Linked DNA regions of Homo sapiens: regions 2 and 3 are each linked to region 1. Evidence: promoter capture Hi-C in 16 types of primary human blood cells and fetal thymus (Javierre and others, 2016). All regions are on one chromosome and are shown on one strand. Each heading gives the region's core, a stretch centred on a gene start or on the middle of the fragment in contact. The rest is flanking DNA. Distances are from core to core; before and after follow the strand shown.

Region 1 (3,428 bases), core at 444-2,943:
CCCGGCTAATTTTTGTATTGTTAGTAGAGACTGGGTTTCGCCATGTTGGGCAGGCTGGTCTTGAACTCCTGACCTCAGGTGATCCAGCTGCCACGGCCTCCCAAATTGCTGGGATTACAGGCGTGAGCCACAGCGCCAGGCCTTTTTTTTTTTCTTTCTTATACATTGTTTACACTCCTCACTTACTCCTGATTCTTAACAGTTGCCACAACCTTTCTTCATTTAAAATCTAACTCAGTTCAATCAGGAAGGTCACTTACCTTGAAAGTCTTCCTTCTTTAGAGCTGGGGTGCATGGTGTTCTTGTTGGCAGAGTAGAAATGAGATATCAAGGAAAAAGAAACTGTAACACAACTGGGAACCCTTAACTCATTGTAAGAACTGCCTCCAAATCAACTTCCTCAAAAACTAAAGAACTCTTCGGGAGAGAGAGACTGGCTGATAAACAATCTAAGGGGAAAACTTTTAAAGATTGTAACACTAAAAATAATTCCGTAAAACTACAATGCAAGTCTACTCAACAAAACTTTAAAAATATAATTTTATTTTTCTTTCAAGAGATCATGGGAAAATCTACTATTTTCGTTTAAAATATATAACTTCTATTTGTTACTATATTTGGATTTGAGCTACTACTATTCTGGATTTGTTCCCATGTATCTGTGGAACCAGGCAGCTAATTAATCTTTACTCAGCATCTCTGGTATTTCTTGAATGAAAATGGAATGGATTGGTGGAATTAATGGCTAGATGTTTAGAAGACACTACTTACTTTGTTATTTTCTCTGTATAATGATGAAAGCCTACAACTATACAGAGACATAAACGAGCCAGGGTGACAGGTTGGGAAAGATGAAGAGGGAGGAGGAAAGGATAGGCTTGTAGCCCTCATCCGGTCAAATTCCCAACTTTGAGCTTCACTTTATTGTAAAATTAGAGGCTAAAACTATTTAACGCTTCCAAAACTTTTTGATTCAACAAATGCCAATTAGTTACTAACATAATTAATCAGTGTATCCTGATTTTTAAAAGATATTTTCCTTTGTGATTTAAAAGAAACATGGGAGTTGGAGTTGCAGCGTCAGTCCTGAAGGACTGACCTCGGGAGGCCAGGTAGGAACTGATAAACTGGCAACAAAATCACATGTTTTCAACTGAATATACTGATATTCAAGCGTCCAGAAAAACAATTTCGAGCCTACGTTCACAAGTTTGCCAGAAAGCCCTATTATTGACACAGCTGCGGATCTCAGACATCTGAGTTAGTCAGCACCATTCTGCTGGAGGGGATTAAGACTGGACGCTTCGAGCGGAGTTGGGAATGTTATCATCTGAGGAAACTAAAAGGCGCCAGCAGTAGGACTTTCTCCAAGGTCTCTGACAAAATATGTTGCGGGAAAAGTCAACCCGCCCCAAATTCCCCCGTGTGGCCCTAACTCGAGGCTCTGGCTCCTCGCGCCGGCAAGCTGAGGAAGAGACGGTCCCCTGCGATTTAGATACAAACGCGCGCGTGCAGGGAAGGCCATCCCAGGGCAGACACTGCCACCTCCGCCGCTTCCGACGCCCGCGCTCGCGGGAGAGCCTAGCGCCGCACGGGAACCTCCCGACCACCGCCGCAGCGCGGATGGGCGTCCCCGGGAGCCAATGGACGCGCCGGGAGGCGGGGCAGGGAGGCCGAGGGGGCGGGATTTCCCGCACGGCCGCTCGGCGCCTGGAGAAGGCTGTGCGGGCGGGGACGGCTGCAGCCCTTGCCGGAGAGGGCGGGCCGGGGTCAGCTGCGGCGGGCGGGCCGGCGCGGGGAGCTGTGGGCGGCAGCTGCGTCTCCTGCCACCGCCCTCCCTCCGCCACGATGCCGGGGATCGACAAGCTGCCCATCGAGGAGACGCTGGAGGACAGCCCGCAGGTGAGGCGCGGGAGCTGGTGGGCGACGAGGGAGAGCCCAGCTGGCCGACCCCAGGTCTGGCGCCTCCGCGGCTCCCGCAGGTGCCCGCCCCGGCCCAGGTGGGGGCCGCCGCCGCCCTAGGTCACCGCCCGTCGCAGGCCGCGCCCGGAGTTGTGGAGGCTGGGCCCGCCGCCCAAGGCCCGCGTGGGCCTGCTCGGCTGGGCCGAGGGCCGCAGGCGGAGACCGAGCCGCTGGTGCTCGTGGGCCGGGCGGTCACGTACGCGCGCGGGTCCTTTTTATTTGACGAAAGGCGCCGTTTTTATCGCGGTGATGTGAGGTGCCAAATCTCGATCCTGGAATTTTCTCCCTGAGAACCTCTTCAGAAAAATTGCAGAAGGGAGAGAAACCCCGATAGTCTTATTTAATGATTTCCGAGGCTCAGCAAGCTAAGGAAGGAAATGGATCGTTTTTCTTTGGGAGAGGCTGTAAGGTTGTGTGTGGAGCCCTAATGGCAAAGCCCGTGACGGGTCCCGGAGCCCAAGACCGCTCTCCCCGCCGAATGTGCCCGTGTCGCGGCCGTGACTGTGGTCGCTGTCACTCGAGCTGTGCACGGCGAGGGATGGACGGTGCCTTCGCCGCTCCGCGACTGCTGCGCTGCTCCCTGCAGACTTGGCCTTAATAAACTCATCAAAATAAAAGCCCTGTGTTCTGTGCGTCGGAATGATGCTGATGTGGTTGCTCTAGCTTAAGACAGTTTTGGAAAATGTAACCATTTAATATGTTTTCAGTACTGCAGAATGAAAGCAGCTATATTTTTTAAAATGTTGGCAGGGGCTGTAACTTGCATAGGGAAAACTTCATCTCTAAGCCGTTTTACACGATAATTTAAACGGTTTAAGACGGTGTTGCTGGTTGGACACTATTTAGAATGAAACATTTCTGAATTGTTGCTGATTTAGAAATGCAGTTGCACCATTTCGTGTGTCTTTACAGTTGAACATGGCCCCCAAAGAAGAAAAGCAGAAGAGGTCTAGATCTCCTTTTCCTGGATGGCACTTCTGCCATGGATTTTGTGCCAATGTTAATTGCCAAGTTGAAATGGGGCTCTGATTGTAGAATTGATTTGTTCTTTTTTATTCTGAAAGTTATCTTCACAGGCCAGTTGCCTGCTGCTAATGTACTCTTAACAGCTGATAGTGACAAAAAGAGAAACTCACATTTGGTTTATCTTGACTGCCAGTATACTCGGTTCAATTTTTTTCTTGATGATTTCTCCATATAAAGTTATAAACTGTATTTGTTTCAGATGATTTGCAAAAAGTTTGTGGAATTGGTCAGGTGTACTTTGTCATTTTACTTTTTATTATGTAAGATTCAACAGGTTGCCTTACCTTTCTTCTCTTACTTGGCTTTTTTTTTTAATAGCCCATAAAGACTATAAACGGCTCAGAATGGATTGCACACTGCCCTGGAAATGACTTGTGAGGCAGAGATAAACTCTTGACTCATCTAATGTCTTGAGGTTTTTGCCAGATTAGTTTACAACT
Region 2 (3,428 bases), core at 424-2,923, 460 kb after region 1:
ATTCATTAATTCTAAAGATGCTTTGAACTTTCCTGCTTCTTCCCTTGCTCATGCTTAAGAACTGATTCACCATTTATGCGCCTATCAAATTCCATCCAGCAGGGGAAATAAGTGATTTCTATTGCCTCTTTTTGTAATTTTTCCTCAATAAATATTGTGTATAATTTCTTAATTATATAAGCTGAAATTTTAAATTATGCAACCCTTAAGGTTCAAATCAATTTTCACCTTCCACCAGAAATTTTCACTTAGTCTCTGGACCACTGACTATATGGTTTTTTTTGTTTTGTTTTGTTTTTGAGATGGAGTCTGGCTTTGTCACCCAGGCTGGAGAGCAGTGGCATGATCTCAGCTCACTGCAACCTCCAACTCCCAAGTTCAAGCGATTCTGCTGCCTCAGCCACTCAAGTAACTGGGATTACAGGTGTGCAACATCCCGCCCGGCTAATTTTTTTGTATTTTCAGTAGAGACGGAGTTTCGCCATGTTGGCCAGGCTGGTCTCGGACTCCTGACCTCAAGTGATCCACCCACCTCAGCCTCCCAAAGTGCTGGGACTACAGGCATGAGCCAGCACACCTGGCCGACTATATGCTCTTACTTGTCTCTTCAGTTAAATTCTGGAGAGCAGGGATTCTCATGTCTTCATCTACTGATTAACATAATAGAATCCTTTGTGCATGTTAGGTACTTATTATGGCCTATGCAAATGGTCCCAGTGCTCCTATTATAATAGGTACCAACAAAAATTTAATGATGCTACCCTCATACTGATCCTGTATTACTTACAAAGGACGCTTAAGGTTAGGTAGGAATTCACTAAATGAGTAATACAGATAGAATTCAAATAAACTAGACCAAAAGAGTAATTATTTCATTATTTCAGAAAAACTCAATAAATAATTACAATTGCTAACTTTATCAAGTGTTTTCCTTGTGCCAGGCACTGTATTGTATCAATTAATCCTCACAATACACTAGAAATGAGAACTATTATCATCTCACTTCATCTGCCCATGGCTATAAACTATTATCAGTTAGAAACCCTACCTTCAGGAAATCCAACTTTATGTCATTGACATAGGTCACGCTGGTCTTTTGTCCAAACAGAAGCAAGTATCTACTGTGCATTCCACAGGACGGTAAAGCATTTTGCCAACTAAAGGATCACAAAAATGCTAAAAGCAGTTCATACAACTCAGAAAATAGCCCTGGGTACTATTATTACACTGAGTATTAGCATGTAAACAGGAACACTTTGAGAAATGAGGTAAACTATTACTACCAAGAATTTAAGAATTTTAGTTCAAGCTACCGCTAGCATTTCACATCTTCTTTGCTTCAGTTTCCCTAAATAGTAAACAACACAGTATAGTGGGGGGAAATTAGGCTTCAGAATCAAAAGGACCAGGGTTCAAATCCTGGCTTATTAAGCAAGTGATATGGGGCAAGTTACCTCTTTAAGTTCCAGTTCCCTTATTTAAAAAGTGTTTAGCTCATGCCTGTAATTTCAGCACTTTGGGAGGCCGCAGCGGGTGGATCACAAGGTCAGGAGTTCAAGACCAGTCTAGCCAAGATGGTGAAACCCCATCTCTACTAAAAATACAAAAATTAGCCCGGTGTGGTGGTGGGCACCTGTAATCCCAGCTACTCAGGAGGCTGAGGCAGAGAATTGCTTGAACCCAGAAGGTGGAGGTTGCAGCGAGCCAAGATTGTGCCACTGCACTCCAGCCTGGGTGACAGAGTGAGACTCCGTCTCAAAAAAAAAAAAAAAAAAAGAGTTTATGGGCCAGGCACGGTGGCCCATGCCTGTAATCCCAGCACCTTGGGAGGCCAAGGTGGGCAGATCACGAGGTCAGGAGTTTGAGACCGGCCTGACCAACATGGTGAAACCCCGTCGTCTCTACTAAAAATACAAAAATTAGCTGGGTGCGGTGGCACGTGCCTGTAATCCCAGCTACTTAGGAGGCTGAGGCAGGAGAATCGCTGGAACTTGGGAATCAGAGGTTGCGGTGAGCTGAGATCGTGCCACTGCACTCTAGCCTGGGTGACAAAGCGAGACTCTGTTTCAAGAAAAGAGTCTAAAGCCAGGCATGGTGGCTCATGCCTATAATCCCAGCACTTTGGAAGGCTAAGGCAGGTGGACTGTGGGAGGCTGAGGCAGGCAGATCACTTGAGGCCAGGAGTTCAAGACCAGTCTGGGCAACACAGCAAAACCCTGTTTCTACAAAAAAACAAAAAAGTAGCCAGGCATGTTGGTACACACCTGTAGTCCAGCTACTTGACAGGCTGAGGTGAGAGAATTGCTTGAGCCTGGGAGGTCCAGGCTGCAGTGCACTGTAGCCTGGTGACACAGCATGACCCTGTCTCAAATAAATAAATAAAGTCCAAATATTACTTAATAATTAGTGACGGAAAGGAATAAATGAGGCTGGGTACAATGGCTCATGCCTGGGATCTCAACACTTTGGGAGGTGGAGGCAGGAGGTTCCCTTGAGTCCAGGAGTTCAAGATCACACTGGGCAACACAAAAATAAAACAATTTAATCAGGCATGGTGGCACACACCTGGAGTGCAATGGCACAGTCTCGGCTCACTGCAACCTCCGCCTCCCTGGTTCAAGTGATCCTCCTGCCTCAGCCTCCAGAGTAGCTGGGATTACAGGTATGCGCCACCATGCCTGGCTAATTTTTTTTTTTTTTTGTATTTTTAGTAGAGATGGGTTTCACCACGTTGGCCAAGCTAGTCTCGAACTCCTGACCTCAGCAGATCTGCCTGCCTCTGCCTCCCAAAGTGCTGGGATTACAGGCGTGAGCCACCACGTCCAGCCTAGAATTCTTGTTTATATGAGTTATATCTATCAACATTCACCACTGTAGAAACTAAAAGTATCATTAAAAAAAATTGTTTATTTATTTTAAAATAATAACCTATTACTCATTAACATATTCAATTTTTATGAAAAGTAACTATATTCAGGTTGAGTATTCCTTATCCAAAATGCTTGGTGGGATCAGAAGTGTTTTGGATCTCAGATCTTTTCAGATTCTAGAATATTTGAATTATACTTACTCAGTTGGACATCCCAAATCCAAAAACCTGAAATCCAAAATGCTCCAATGAGCATTTCCTTTAAAAAGCATCATGTCAGTACTCAGAAAGTTTCAGGTTTTGGAGCGTCTCAGATTTTGAATGTTTAGATTAGGAACACACAACCTGTATTCCTAAACAAAACAAAAACCTTACTAAGATGGCATTGTTTACATGTTTGCAAATATCTTTAATGTCTGATTTAACAGAAATAACTAGATTCTCATATCTGCTTCAGCATTCATTCTTTTTTTTTAAAAAAAAATTTGTTTTTCTTTAATGTTTGCTCTTGGCAGAATCATTCTATGTTCATTCTATTGCAATATGTTGTTCTGGTTGA
Region 3 (3,428 bases), core at 261-2,760, 370 kb after region 1:
ACAACAACAAAAAAACCCCAAAAACTTCTTTACTCAGAAGTACCCTCCTTTGCATTGGAGATACATGTAAAGAGTTGCTTAGCAGTTGAATAACTCAAAATTGCATTTTGGAAGCTTGCTAAGTGACAAGACCTTCTTGTATCCTTTTGTGAACCCCCAAAATATGAGACAGGCCTCAGTTAATTTAGAAAGTTAATTTTGCCAAAGTTGAGGACACGCGTCCATGACATAGCCTCAGGAGGTCTTGTAGACATGTGCCCAAGGTGATCAGAGCACGGTTTGGTTTTATACATTCTAGGGAGAAATGAGACATCAATCAATATATGTAAGATGAACATTGGTTCATTCTGGAAAGACTGGACAACTCAAAGCAAAGGCAGGAAGACTCTGAGTGGGGAGGGAGCTTCCAGGGCATAGATAGATAAGAGACAAATGGTTGCATTCCTTTGAGTTTCTGATTAGCCTCTCCAAAGGAGGCAGTCAGATATGCGTTTATCTCAGTGAGCAGAGGGGTGACTTTTTAAAGAATGGGAGGCAGGTTGGCCCTAAGCAGTTCCCAGCTTGACTTTTCTCTTTAGCTTAGTGAGGTGGAGGCCCCAAGATTTATTTTCCTTTCACACTTTAGGCCTTATGTCTGTTTTTAGTTTTATATAGTAGAATTCCTTAAAACAATCTTCAACTAATTCTTAGGGTCTTCTTAAATTCAAAAGACAAACCGTATGAGCCCTCCTCCCTGTAACTTATTCCAAATCTTAATCCATGTTTTCTGTTTAGTTATGCAAAATAAATCGAAAGAATTCTGTTCTCCATCTCTAGCCTCCAAAACCTGAACCAAAACAAAAGTTGTCAAAACAGATTTTTCAGTAAGAATACACTACACATCAAGTGGCTAATGTAAATTACAAAACAGGATGTTAATGGCAGACTGTAATATCTCTATTGTACAGATAAAAATAATCAGGGTCAGAGAGATTAAATATTCTGCCCAAGGTCACACAGCTAAAAGCAGTGGAACAGCTATAAGAACCCATTTCTTCTGGTATTAACTGGTATTTACACTCTTTTTTTTTTTTTTTTTTTAATAAATAAGTGGATTCTGGCTATGTTGCCCAGGCCTGTCTGGAACTCCTGGGCCCAAGCAATCCTTCCACCTCAGCCTCCAAAGTGTTGGGATTACAGGTGTGAGCCAGTGCACCCAGCCATTAACACTCTTAACCACTACACTATACTACCTTCTTACATTTATTTATTTATTTATTTGAGACAGGGTCTCACTTTGTCACCCAAGCTGAAGTACAGTGGCATCATCTCGGCTTACTCAACCTCCTGGGATCAAGTGATCCTCCCACCTCAGCCCCCAAAGTAGCTGGGACTACAGGTACACCACCACATTGGCTAAGTAGTGTTATTTTTTGTAGAGACAGGGTTTTGCTATGTTGCCAAGGCTGGTCTCAAACTCCTGAGCTCAACCAATCTGTCTGCCTTGGCCTCCCAAAGTACTGGGATTATGGGCCTGAGCCACTGTTCCCGGCCAAATTCTTTTCTTTTCTCTTTTCTTTTTCTTTCTTTCCTTTCTTTTCTTTCTTTCTCTTTCTTTTCTTTCCTTCATCCTTCCCTCCCCTTCCTTTCCTTTCCCTTTTCCCCTCCCTTCCCCCTTCTGTTCCCTTTTCCCTTCCCTTTTCCCTCCTCTCCCTTCCCCTCCCCTCCCTTTTTCCTCCTGCCTCAGCCTCCCAAGTAGCTGGGACCACAGACATATTCCACCATGCCCAGCTATTTTATGTATTTTTGGTAGAGTTGGCGTTTTGTAGAGACCAGCATGTTGCCCAAGCTGGTATCCAGCTGCTGAGCTCAGGCGATCTACTCGCCTTGGCCTCCCAAAGTGTTGGTAGTAGAGGTGTGAGCCACCGTGCCCAGACCCCAAATTTATTTTTATTTTATTTTATTTTTCTAGGTCAGGCATGGTGGCTCACACCTGTAATCCCAGCATGTTGGGAGGCCAAGATGGGAGACTCACTTGAGCCCAGAAGTTCCAGACCAGCCTTGGCAATATAGTGAGATGCCATTTCTATTTTAAAAAATATTTTAAAAATAAAATATTTTTCTATTCACCTTTCATCAATACAAACCCAGAAGAGAATCTTTCTTATTTTTAAAAATGAGGAAATTGAGCCCTACAAGAAAAATTGCTATAGTTTATTGATCACTTGCTAAGCCATGTACTTCATTTAATCATCGCTTTTGAACACAGTGTTGTATAAAGTTGCCCAGGCTCAAAAGCATGTACTCATAACATACTACACTAGGTAGTATGTTTTCCTCATCTCTGGTTATTTTATTTTATTTTTTTTTGCTCTGTCACCTAGGCTGGAGTGCAGTGGGGCGATCTTGGCTCACTGTAGCCTCTGCCTCCTGGGTTCCAGCGATTCTCCTGTATCAGCCTCCGGGGTAGCTGGAATTACAGGCACATGCCACTGCGCCCGGCTAATTTTTGTATTTTTAGCAGAGAGGGGGTTTCACCATGTTGGCCAGGCTGGTCTCGAACTCCTGACCTAGGTGGTCCACCCACCTCGGCCTCCCAAAATGCTGGGATTACAGGTGTGAGCCACCGCGCCCAGCCTCTGACTATTTTTCTTAGTGAGATCTTTTTAGTCACAAATATGTATATGGAATTTACATTCCAGTCCCTTGGGTTTAATAATGTACAGACAGCAGACCCCCTGTATCTTCAGGTTTCAAACCCACAGATTCAGCCAATAGCAGATGTGGAACCTGCAGATGCAGAATGGCAACTGTAAGGGCCTTGAGCATCTGCAGATTTTGGTATCACGGGGATCCTGGAACCAATCTCCCCAAATACCCAGGTACAACTATAATTATTTTTGCTGATTGTTATGTCTCATTAGAATGCAAGCTTATTAAGGAAACCATATCTCTTCCTTTTTTCTTTCCTTCTTTTTTTTTTTTTTTTTTTTTGAGACAGTCTCGCTGTGTCACCCAGGCTGGAGTGCAGTGGCGCTATCTCAGCTCACTGCAATCTCTGCCTCCTGGGTTCAGGTGATTCTCCTGCCTCAGCTGCCCAAGTAGCTGGGACTACAGGTGCACACCACCACACCCGGCTAATTTTTTTTTTTTTTTGTATTTTTAGTAGAGATGGGGTTTCACTGTGTTGACCAGGCTGGTCTTGAATGCCTGACCTCAAGTGATCTGCCCACCTCGGCCTCCCAGAGTGCTGGGATTACAGGTGTGAGCCACCATGCATGGCCTGCCTTTGAATTTTTTAAAACATTTGAGCAGATATATTCTATAAATAGCGGTACTATTTAATAGCAATAAGTGGTTACTGAGCACTTACAATATGCCATTGTACTTAATGTGCATTATCCCATTTAATCCTCTCAACAGTTTAATCCATGCCACTCACCTTGTTC

Evidence for each region. Contacts are between HindIII fragments. The CHiCAGO score rates a contact against its expected background, and 5 or more counts as called.
Region 2: a contact is called between a fragment that was not itself captured here and the fragment with the promoter of APPL1 in region 1, in 1 of 17 cell types (fetal thymus). The highest score is 6.2, in fetal thymus.
Region 3: a contact is called between a fragment that was not itself captured here and the fragment with the promoter of APPL1 in region 1, in 2 of 17 cell types (naive B cells and megakaryocytes). The highest score is 5.6, in naive B cells.

The regions. Positions count from the first base shown.
Region 1 is chr3:57,226,036-57,229,463 of GRCh38, forward strand. It overlaps APPL1 (adaptor protein, phosphotyrosine interacting with PH domain and leucine zipper 1), which reads left to right and starts at 1,694. Exons shown (of 22, transcript NM_012096.3): 1 at 1,694-1,902. The coding sequence starts at 1,849. It also overlaps a transcript of HESX1 not described here. RefSeq lists a silencer at 1,492-2,151. The HindIII fragment of the contact is 8,451 bases long and covers 1-3,428 here.
Region 2 is chr3:57,682,395-57,685,822 of GRCh38, forward strand. All of the region lies in intron 1 of DENND6A (DENN domain containing 6A), which reads right to left. Among named protein-coding and RNA genes, the nearest start is that of DENND6A, 9.0 kb to the right of the region's middle. The HindIII fragment of the contact is 4,499 bases long and covers 1-3,428 here.
Region 3 is chr3:57,598,792-57,602,219 of GRCh38, forward strand. It overlaps ARF4-AS1 (ARF4 antisense RNA 1), which reads left to right. Exons shown (of 2, transcript NR_132370.1): 2 at 1,952-2,125. It also overlaps a transcript of PDE12 not described here. Among named protein-coding and RNA genes, the nearest start is that of ARF4-AS1, 2.7 kb to the left of the region's middle. The HindIII fragment of the contact is 2,797 bases long and covers 113-2,909 here.